Linked DNA regions of Homo sapiens: all the other regions are linked to region 2. The links are contacts of gene promoters, found by promoter capture Hi-C in human tissues and cell types (Jung and others, 2019). All regions are on one chromosome and are shown on one strand. Each heading gives the region's core, a stretch centred on a gene start or on the middle of the fragment in contact. The rest is flanking DNA. Distances are from core to core; before and after follow the strand shown. Region 1 holds the start of DNHD1 (dynein heavy chain domain 1). Region 2 has its middle 28 kb from the start of CAVIN3. Region 3 holds the start of OR56B4 (olfactory receptor family 56 subfamily B member 4).

Evidence for each region. The method cuts DNA at HindIII sites, captures the fragments that hold promoters and counts their contacts. A contact is called where the count stands out against the background at its distance.
Region 1: the fragment with the promoter of DNHD1 here is called in contact with a fragment that was not itself captured in region 2 in 1 of the 25 tissues and cell types used here (pancreas).
Region 3: the fragment with the promoter of OR56B4 here is called in contact with a fragment that was not itself captured in region 2 in 2 of the 25 tissues and cell types used here (mesendoderm cells and neural progenitor cells).

What each region holds. Positions count from the first base shown.
Region 1 is chr11:6,495,864-6,499,078 of GRCh38, reverse strand. DNHD1 (dynein heavy chain domain 1) reads right to left here and starts at 1,799. Exons shown (of 43, transcript NM_144666.3): 1 at 1,748-1,799; 2 at 1,412-1,494; 3 at 118-1,308. The coding sequence starts at 863. The HindIII fragment of the contact is 8,534 bases long and covers 1-3,215 here.
Region 2 is chr11:6,347,369-6,350,521 of GRCh38, reverse strand. No RefSeq gene overlaps it. Among named protein-coding and RNA genes, the nearest start is that of CAVIN3, 28 kb to the right of the region's middle. The HindIII fragment of the contact is 9,857 bases long and covers 1-3,153 here.
Region 3 is chr11:6,106,365-6,109,392 of GRCh38, reverse strand. OR56B4 (olfactory receptor family 56 subfamily B member 4) reads right to left here and starts at 1,709. Exons shown (of 1, transcript NM_001005181.2): 1 at 558-1,709. The coding sequence starts at 1,614. The coding sequence ends at 655. All of the region lies in intron 2 of LOC124902622 (a long non-coding RNA gene), which reads left to right. The HindIII fragment of the contact is 6,854 bases long and covers 1-3,028 here.

The DNA.
Region 1 (3,215 bases), core at 550-3,049, 150 kb before region 2:
GCTAATCCCTGTGATAAACAGAGAGCTGGATCTAAACTTCCAAGTGACCCCAGAGGCACCCATAAAACAGCAACTTTTTCTCCTCTGCTCAAGCCCTAGACTGAGTCCCTCACTTACCTGGTCTCTTTTCTTCCAACAGGCTCCACCTCTGCATTGTCAGTGTCACTGCTTTCATACCGTACAGGGATGTCCGCTGCCAGTGCCAAGGGAAGGAGACTAAGTCCATCCAGCCACACAGCCTCTTCTAGGGCCACCTGAGCACCAACAATGCCCAGGCAGCGCTGTAGCTCAGGCAGTGTCAATGGTCGCAGCCAGGTGGCCAGCTCCTCCTTTACTTGCTGCCTGCTCCACTGGGCCTGCACAAAAGGGCAAGCTGGGCATGGGGGCCTGTGATGGAGCCTCCGCTTCTGGGGACAGCAGTCAGCATGGGAAGCACTGTCTAACAAAGAGCTGTCTGGAGGAAAGGCCTGGACAATGGCACCTAGCAGGTCCAGATGGAGGTGGGTTTGGACCCAGGGTGCCCAGCAGTACAGCTGCTCCAGGAAGGGCAGCAAATCAAGGTGGCCAACTAGCAACTCACGATATGGAGGCAGTAGACCCAGTACTGCATGAAGATAGCGCCAAGCTGCAGGGCTACTGTCCTGCAACACAGCTGAGAACAGAGTTCGGAGCTCAGCTAGCAGGAGTTCCAGCACTGTGGGCTGCTCTGACTCAGTCACTGGCTTCACGAACTGCCTCTGTTTCTGCTGGCAGGCCAAGGGCTGTTCTTTGCTGTCCAAGACACATATGGAGTGCCAAGACTTAAGGGAATCAGATGATGTCTCATCAGAAGACAAACCTACCCTCCTCTCCTCCGGGACCATGAGGAGCTGGGCATTCAACTGCTGTCGAAGTGACCTTGCCCATAGCTCAGGCTCCAACTGCCAGTTCCAGGATGCCAGATGCGGGGCCTCACCTGCATGGGCCAGCCCAGCAGAGGGGCCAGAGAAGGGACCTCAGGCTCTGGGCAGGGGATGGTCAGAGTCAATGGGGTTAGGAGGAAGAAAGGACCTGGGACAGGGAAATAGATGGAGCTACAGAGCAGAGCCAGACCAGCAGAGAGCCTTTCCTGAGACCCTCAGGCCCTCCCTACTGCTTCCCCAAAGACTCTGGTAAGGAGCAGGCCTAAGACAGACGTGAGAGCCCTCCTTGCAGAAGAGTTCCTTCTTACCTCCCAGTACCCTGTCCCCCTCACCTGGCCTAGGGGGGTTAGGAGGCAAGGCAAGGGAAGAGAGCCCGATCTGCTGATGAGGTTTCATTGAAGAGTGCCTGCTGGAGCAGTGAATGAACTTAGACTTGAGTTCCAGTCTGAGGCTCACCCTAATCATAGCCACCCATACACGGAGAGACTCGCACACAGACGTGCAATCACCTGAAGAGGCAAACTGACACACCGACAGAGCTCACTCTGAACCTCGGTCACAGCAAGGAATCTGCACTCGAGCTGGCGATCGCCTGAAAAACGGGTTAACAGGTCGTCACTCGAAGGCAGCAGAGCCCCAGTCCCATGACGTCTTCGCCCACAGCCTAAGGAGGTCGTGAAGACAGAAAGCCGAGGAGCAGGCACAGCAAATGATGGTCAGGATGCAGGTAGGGGAAGACGTTAACAGGCAAAGGAGGGGGCTGGGAGAGCGGGGAAGAGGAGGCGGACTCTGTGGGAGGGGGTCCTAGGGAACAAAGAGAAATGGATCCGGAGCCGAGGACTCACCCGCAGCTCCACCCGCACCCAGCTGTTAGAACCGTTACAAGATTCCAGAAGGACCGAGTCTTTGCCAGGAGCATCCGGGGGAGCCAGAAAGAGGAGGGGCCAGGGTCCGATATGGGCGGGGCCGAGAGGGCAGAGCCCAAGCCTGGAGGGGCAGAACTAGGTTCAACCTGTGGGCTAAGGCTTGCCTGGGACAGGGACCTGTAGAGGACCAGGCGGGGTCTGAACTGCACGTGCAGTACGGTTGACTCGGGAGACTAGCAATCCAGAGGGTGTCGTAAGCAGGTGTTTATATCCATTCGCTGAGTATCTAAACTAGTGCCAGGTCTTTGGTATGTCTTTGGTACTCCCCCATCCCCACCCCCAACGTATCCATCTACCCTATCCCACCTCCCCAAAAGAAGCCCGAATAAAACAAAATCCTTGATCTCAAGGAGCTCAACATCTATTTGGCACGGGGGGAGGGGGATTTTTTGGGGAAGGGCTTATGGAGGGGCTAATTTTTAAAAATTAAGTTGAATGAGGCCGGGCGCGGTGGCTCATGCCTGTAATCCCAGCATTTTGAGAGGCCGAGGCGGGTGGATCACGAGGTCAGGAGATCGAGACCATCCTGGCTAACACGGTGAAACCCTGTCTCTACTAAAAATACAAAAAAATTAGCCGAGCGTGGCGGTGGGCGCCTGTAGTCCCAGCTACTGGGGAGGCTGAGGCAGGAGAATGGCGTGAACCCAGGAGGCGGAGCTTGCAGTGAGCAGAGATCGCGCCACTGCACTCCAGCCTGGGCGACAGAGGGAGACTCTATCTCAAAAAAAAAAAAAAAAAAAAAAAAGTTGATGATTAAAATAAAAAAAGAAATTCAGCCCACCTCTCCTCTGAAATCAGATTAGTATATCCAACTGCCTACTTAATGTCTCCACCTGGAGAGCTTATAGGTATCTCAAACTTAAAATGTCCAAAAGCAGGCTCCTAACCACCCTTTCCCCACCAAAGAAATGCTGCTCCTTTCACTGTCTTTCCCACCTCAGTCAATGGCAAATCCATTCTTTCTGGTTTCTCACACCAAAACCTTGGAGTCAGCTTTGAGACCTCTTCCAAACCCCTTCTTTCTCTTTCCCTCTTCTTTTTCCCTTTCTCTTTCTCTCTCTCCCCCTCCCTCCATAAGTAATCCTTCAGGAAATTCTGCTGGTTGTGCCTTCAGAATATATCCAGAATCCAACTATTTCCCACCATCTTAAGTACTACAACCTTGGTCTAAGCTGCTATCATTTCTCACCTGGGTTTTTCCACAGCCTTTGAACTGTTCTCCTTGCCTCAGATCCTTCTCATGCTTCTCACCATTGCCCCTACAATCCATTCTTTTTAGAGCAGCCAGTGATCCTTTTCAAATATAGGCAGATCCTATAACTCCTCTGCTCATAGCTCACTAATGCCCCCTCATCTAATTCCTTCAGCTGAAGGCCAAAGTCCTATC
Region 2 (3,153 bases), core at 166-2,665:
TTGTCATGGAGTCATATATACTGTTATATCTTGTTATCAGTTATTTAATGCTGCATAACAAGCCATCCCAAAACATAGTGGCTTAAAACAGTAACCATATATTATTGCCCATGAATCTGTGGGTCACCATGTTGATCAGCTGCAGGTTGACTGGTCTAGGATGGCCTCACTCACATGTCTGGTGGTTGGCTGGCTGATGGCTGGGTGACATGGGAGACTGGGACATGTGTCTCATCAAGCATCAAGTTACCCTGGTGTTATTTACATGGCAGGGTCAGGTTTCCAAAAGAGAGACCAGAAGTTTGAAGCATACATTCAGAAATAGTATGATGACACTTCTGCTGCATTCTATTGGCCAAAGCAAACCATAAGGCCAGTCTAGATTCAGTGTGTGAGGAAACAGACTTTCTTGATGGAAGGATTGAAAAGTCACATTTCAAAAAGTATGGATACAGGGAGGCAGGGGAAGCATAGGGTCTTTTTTTTTTTTTTTTTGAGACTGAGTCTTGCTCTGTTGCCCAGGTTGGAGTGCAGTGGAGCGATCTCAGCTCACTGCAAGCTCCGCCTCCCGGGTTCTCACCATTCTCCTGCCTCAGCCTCCAGCGTAGCTGGGACTACAGGTGCTCGCCACCACGCCTGGCTATTTTTTTTTTGTATTTTTAGTAGAGATGGGGTTTCACTGTGTTAGCCAGGAATGTCTGGATCTCCTGACCTTTTTTTGTATTTTTAGTAGAGATGGGGTTTCACTGTGTTAGCCAGGAATGTCTGGATCTCCTGACCTTCTGATCCGCCCACCTCAGCCTCCCAAAGTGCTGGGATTACAGGCGTGAGCCACAGCACCCGGCCAGGGTCCATTTTTACAGTTAATGTATCACAGCTCTGTCAAGAAATTTTTCATAGAAAAAGAAGTAAGGCAAAGAACCAATGTCCATGCCATTCATTGATTTCATTATGGGACCTACAGTGGATTGAACTGTGTTCTTCAAAAAGATATGTTGAAGTCCTAACTCCGGTACCTTTGAAGAGGACCTTATTTAAAAATAGGGTCTTTGCATGTGTAATTAAATTAAGATAAGGTCAGACTGGATTAGGGAGGACCCTAAACTCAATGATTGGTGTCTCTATAAGGAGAGAAAGATTTGAAAACTCTTGGATACAGAGGAAAGAAGGACCTGTGAAAATGAAGACAGAGATTGAAGTGGTGCAGTTACACGCCAAGGAATGACAAGGATTGCTGGGAGCTACCAGAGGCAAAGAATGATCCTCTCCAGAGCCTTCTGAGAGTGCCCTGCTGAGACCTTGGGCTTCTAGCTTCTAGAACCATAAGATAACAAATGAATATGTTTCTGTTGTTTTAAATCACTAATTTTGTGGCACTTTCTTATAGCAGCTCTAGAAAGCTAATATAGACCCTATCAGACAGAAGTTGCTGGCATTATAGAGAAATGAATGTTCAGCTTTGACCCTAGCTGGGGGACAATTGCTTGTGAGTTAGGCATCTTGTCTTGCTGTTGGTGATTTATGCTCTCTGCCAGATTCATATATTCATGTCTCCAAGTCAGAACACATAGGCCCAGGGATTAAGAGTTGGAGATGGGAGCATCACCACTCATAATTATACTTCAATAACCATTCTCAAAATGCTGTCTTTCTCTAACCAAGATTCTTTTACTACCAAAGTATTTAGCATCTTAGTGTTCAAAGTAAAACAAAAACAAAACAAAACAACAAAACCAAAAACAAAGTGAGAGATATTTTCACTAGGTGCCTGTAATGATGATCCCATTACATTGGAAATTGGAAACTGGTCATGTCACATTTCTCATGCCATGTGCAGAAACGGAAAAAAGATGTCCTGCTGTTATCTAGGATAATTAATCTTTTTAAAAAATTAATTTTTAAGTTGACTAATATAAATGGTATAGATTTTTTAGTGTACATGTTTTGATATATGAATACACTGTAGAATGGTTAAATTGAGCCAATTAACATATCAATTACCTCAAATACTTACACATTTTTTCTGTGGTGAGAAAGCATAATCTACTCTTAGCAATTTTCAAATGTATAATACATTGTTATTAACTATGGTCATCGTATTGTACAGTAAATCTTCTGAGCTGATTCTTCCTGTCTAACTGGAGGAAACTTTTGTGCCTTTTGATCAACGTCTCCCCAATCTCCCTACTCGCCCAGCACCCCAACCCCCAGCCCCAGCTACTGGTAACTACTTTTTTTTTTTTTTTTTTTTTTTTTTTGTTGAAACGGAGTCTGGCTCCGTCGCCCAGGCTGGAGTGCAGTGGCGCGATCTCGGCTCACTGCAAGCTCCGCCTCCCGGGTTCATGCCATTCTCCTGCCTCAGCCTCCCGAGTAGCTGGGACTACAGGCGCCCGCCACCACGACCGGCTAATTTTTTGTATTTTTAGTAGAGGCGGGGTTTCACTGTGTTAGCCAGGATGGTCTGGATCTCCTGACCTCGTGATCCGCCCACCTCGGCCTCTCAAAGTGCTGGGATTACAGGCGTGAGCCACCGCGCCTGGCCGCAGCTACTGGTAACTTCTATTCTACTCTCTGCTTCTATAAGTTTGACTTTTTAAAGATTCCACATATTTCTGAAATCATGCAATATTTGTCCTTCTGTGTCTGGCTTGTTTTACTTCACATAATGTTTTCCAGGTTTCTCCATATTGTCACAAATGAAAGGATTTCCTTCTTTATAAGGGCTGAATATATCCCACATTTTCTTTATCCATTAGGATGGTTAACCTTGACTACGACTGGAGAAAAGTGCTTTTCTTCGCTCTCAATGGTTCATTTCACATGGAGGGAGCTCTTTTAGAGTAATAATACTGGCCTCCCTCTCCAGAAGAGAAGTCAATGACTTAGCTAAATGATACATTTGGGAAGAACAAGCTTCAGCTTTCCCAGTTGTCTCTTTGGGATCCAGGTTGACCTCAAAAGCATGCACTTCAAAGGACATTCTAAAGGGGCTTGCCCCATTGGTAGACCTCATTTTTCCAGTATGAACTATAGCTGTGTAGGTAAACCTCTTTTTATTTCTGGGATTCACTATTAGAAAGTTATTTTATCCAATGATATAAGCCATCTTTCTAATATTAACTTTGTCAGTCATAGAAATGATTATTGGTTTCT
Region 3 (3,028 bases), core at 460-2,959, 240 kb after region 2:
ATACATATTTTATCAAAGTTTCTGGCCTACAAGAAGTATTTAACACTTGTTAACCATTAATTCATTAATTATTGAGATTTTTTTGGGTACGAAAATTAAACTTTACTCCTTTTTAATAAACATTTATTGTTTACTTTTTATTATAAAAATTACATATGAAAAGCACATAAATATGTAAGAGTTAAATATGTGTAAATATTAAAGGCTTTGTTTTCTATTATTAGTCATATTATAATGATTTTTATGAATAACTTTTTGACTGCATTTAGACTATTTCTTTTGGATATTTTTCTAAAATAGAATTACTGGTTAAGAACATTTAAACATTTATAAACATTTTGATAAATTTTACCAAATTGCTTTTTGGTGTGTTTATAGTCCTACCAGTTGTGTAGGAAAGTGTTAATCTCGGGGTAGGCTAGCAGTAATAGTTAGAAACATTTCACTTTTTTGTTCTTACTTATTTTCCAGGTAATAGGAAATTTTCTTGTAATTTTAATATACATATTTTGATTAGTGAGGCTGACAGTTTTCATGATTTTATTGGCCATTTTTTTCCTAGGGAGTGTGGTAAGTGCAGATTATAACCCTGATCTATTGAGAACTAAAACCTCTGTCATTTCCTAACATCTTACTGGATTCCTAAAGCTGGAGTTACTTGGACACGTCCTGACCCAGTCCAAGCAGTCTCTGAAAGCCCAGTCTGAGTTTGTGCATCCTGAGTGCACAGGCCAGGGGGTTGAGTGCAGGGGGGATGACATTGTGCAGCACATTAAGGAACACAGGAATAAGGGGAATCTTTTTCTCTGCAAGGTGTGTGACAGACAGCACAATGATACCTGTGTGGAAGAGGATGAGGATGAGGTGGGAGCTACAAGTGCTCAGAGCCTTGGACATTGCTTCTGCTGAGTTCAGCCTCAGCACAGAGTGAAGGATTACAGCATAGGAAGAAAATACCAGAGCCATATCACTCCCAACCAAGACCCATGCTAGCATCAGTTGGTAAAATTTGTTCACAGTGATGTCATCACAAGCCAGGCTGATAACCCCCAAGTTAGAGCAGAGGCAGTGCTCGATTTCATTCCTGGAACAGTAGTGTCTCTGGGCAGCCAGTATAGGCACTGGGATGGTCAACAGGCCATTCCTGAGCATGATGAACCCTGTGGCTTTGAAGACAAAAGCTTTAGTGACTATGGAGGGGTACTGAAGAGGGCGACAGATGGCTATGTATCTGTCTACTGCCATGCAGAGAAAGATGCCTGACTCTATGCAGAAGAAGCAGTGGATGGCATAGATCTGAGCAAAACACATGGGGAGGCTAATGGCCTTGGCATCAAACCAGAAGATGGCCAGGATCTTGGGCATGATGGTGGTGGCCAGGCCAATGTCCACCACTGCTAATATGCCCAGCAAATGGTACATGGGTTCATGTAGCACGGTCTCATGTTGAATGGTGATTATGATGAGGAGATTGGCACCAAGAGCTAAGAGGTAGAGCAGAGTCAGGGGCAGGGAGAGCCAGTGCTGCCACTCATGAATGCCTGGTAATCCCATCAGGATGAACTGGGAAATCTGGAGGCTGGAGTCATAGGTAACACTGGTGGAGGTATCCATGGAATGGGTGCCTCAGTCTCAGTGTCTGTCTGAAATAGAAGAAATCTCTGTTTAAAAGTTCAGCTAAGGGGCTGAGCATCGTGGTTCATGCCTGTAATCCCAGCACTTTGGGAGGCTGAGACAGGCAGATAATTTGAGGTCAGGAGCTCGAGACTGACCTGGCTAACATGGCAAAATCTCATCTCTGCGGAGAATACAAAAATTAGCTGGGTGTGGTGGTGCCTGTCTGTAATCCCAGCTACTTGGGAGGCTGAGGCATGAGAATCATTGAACCTGGGAGGCGGAGGTTGCCGTGAGCCGAGATTGTGCCACTGCACCCCAGCCTGGACAACAGAGTGAGACCCTGTCTTAAAAAACAAAACAAAACAAAAAGTTAAGTGTCTTGGTAAGAGCTCCTCAATAATGAACCAGCTCCTTTTATTCATGAATGACCCTCAACTTTATTTGACTTCTGGAAATATTCCACAGAGGAATAACAAAAAAAGCAAAAAAATTCTAAACAGAAGAGTTGGAATAACTATTTTTCATCACCACTTGTATGTCTAATAAGCATGTCCACATATATTAACAACAGTCTTATCACTAACAGATAACAAATGTTAGTATTTGATTTATTTCCAATTTTCTATTTTATTTTTAAACAGTCTACATCATTATCTAGAGATGATTTTGTATCTTGTTTTTGTCTTTTAGCAGTATGTGTTAAGATGTAATATAAGCACTCAAAAATTTTATTTCATGGATGAATACATTAACCAAAGACTTCACAATATTATTTAAAAAGTGTGATGTTAATTTTAATTGCTGCTTTAAATTTTTGCATTTGGCTATTCTATAATTTACTGACAGGTATTTTGCTTTTAATATTGTTTTCCTTGAGTAGAGTTTCAAAAGTGATGCAAAAATTATATATACAAAGGATATAATAGTCTTAAAATTTTAAATATAATTTTGATTTTATTTTAAGATATATTATCTATACATGGTAAAAATCAAAATAAAATGAAAAATATAAACAATGAAAAGTAAGACTCTCATGCTTGGGGCTTTGAAATCTTTTTCCTTTTCACTAGAGGCAGCCAGTAATATGTTTCTTGGGAATCCTTCCATTAATAGTTTATGCATGGATAAAAACATATATATATATATATATATATATATATAATTTTCATAAAAGACATAATCAATTGTTAGCACACCTTTCTCCTTTTTTCTTTCCTTTTCTTTTTTAACTTAATATTTTGAAGACTGCTCCATATTTCCATACTGCAGTTAAGTTGCATTATTTTCTACCACCTAGATGCCCTATAGTTTAATGATTTTTTTTTGTATTTTTAGAATTGATATATCATATTTGTAGATATTTTGGAGGTACATGTGATATTTTGATACATGTATACAATGTGTAATGATC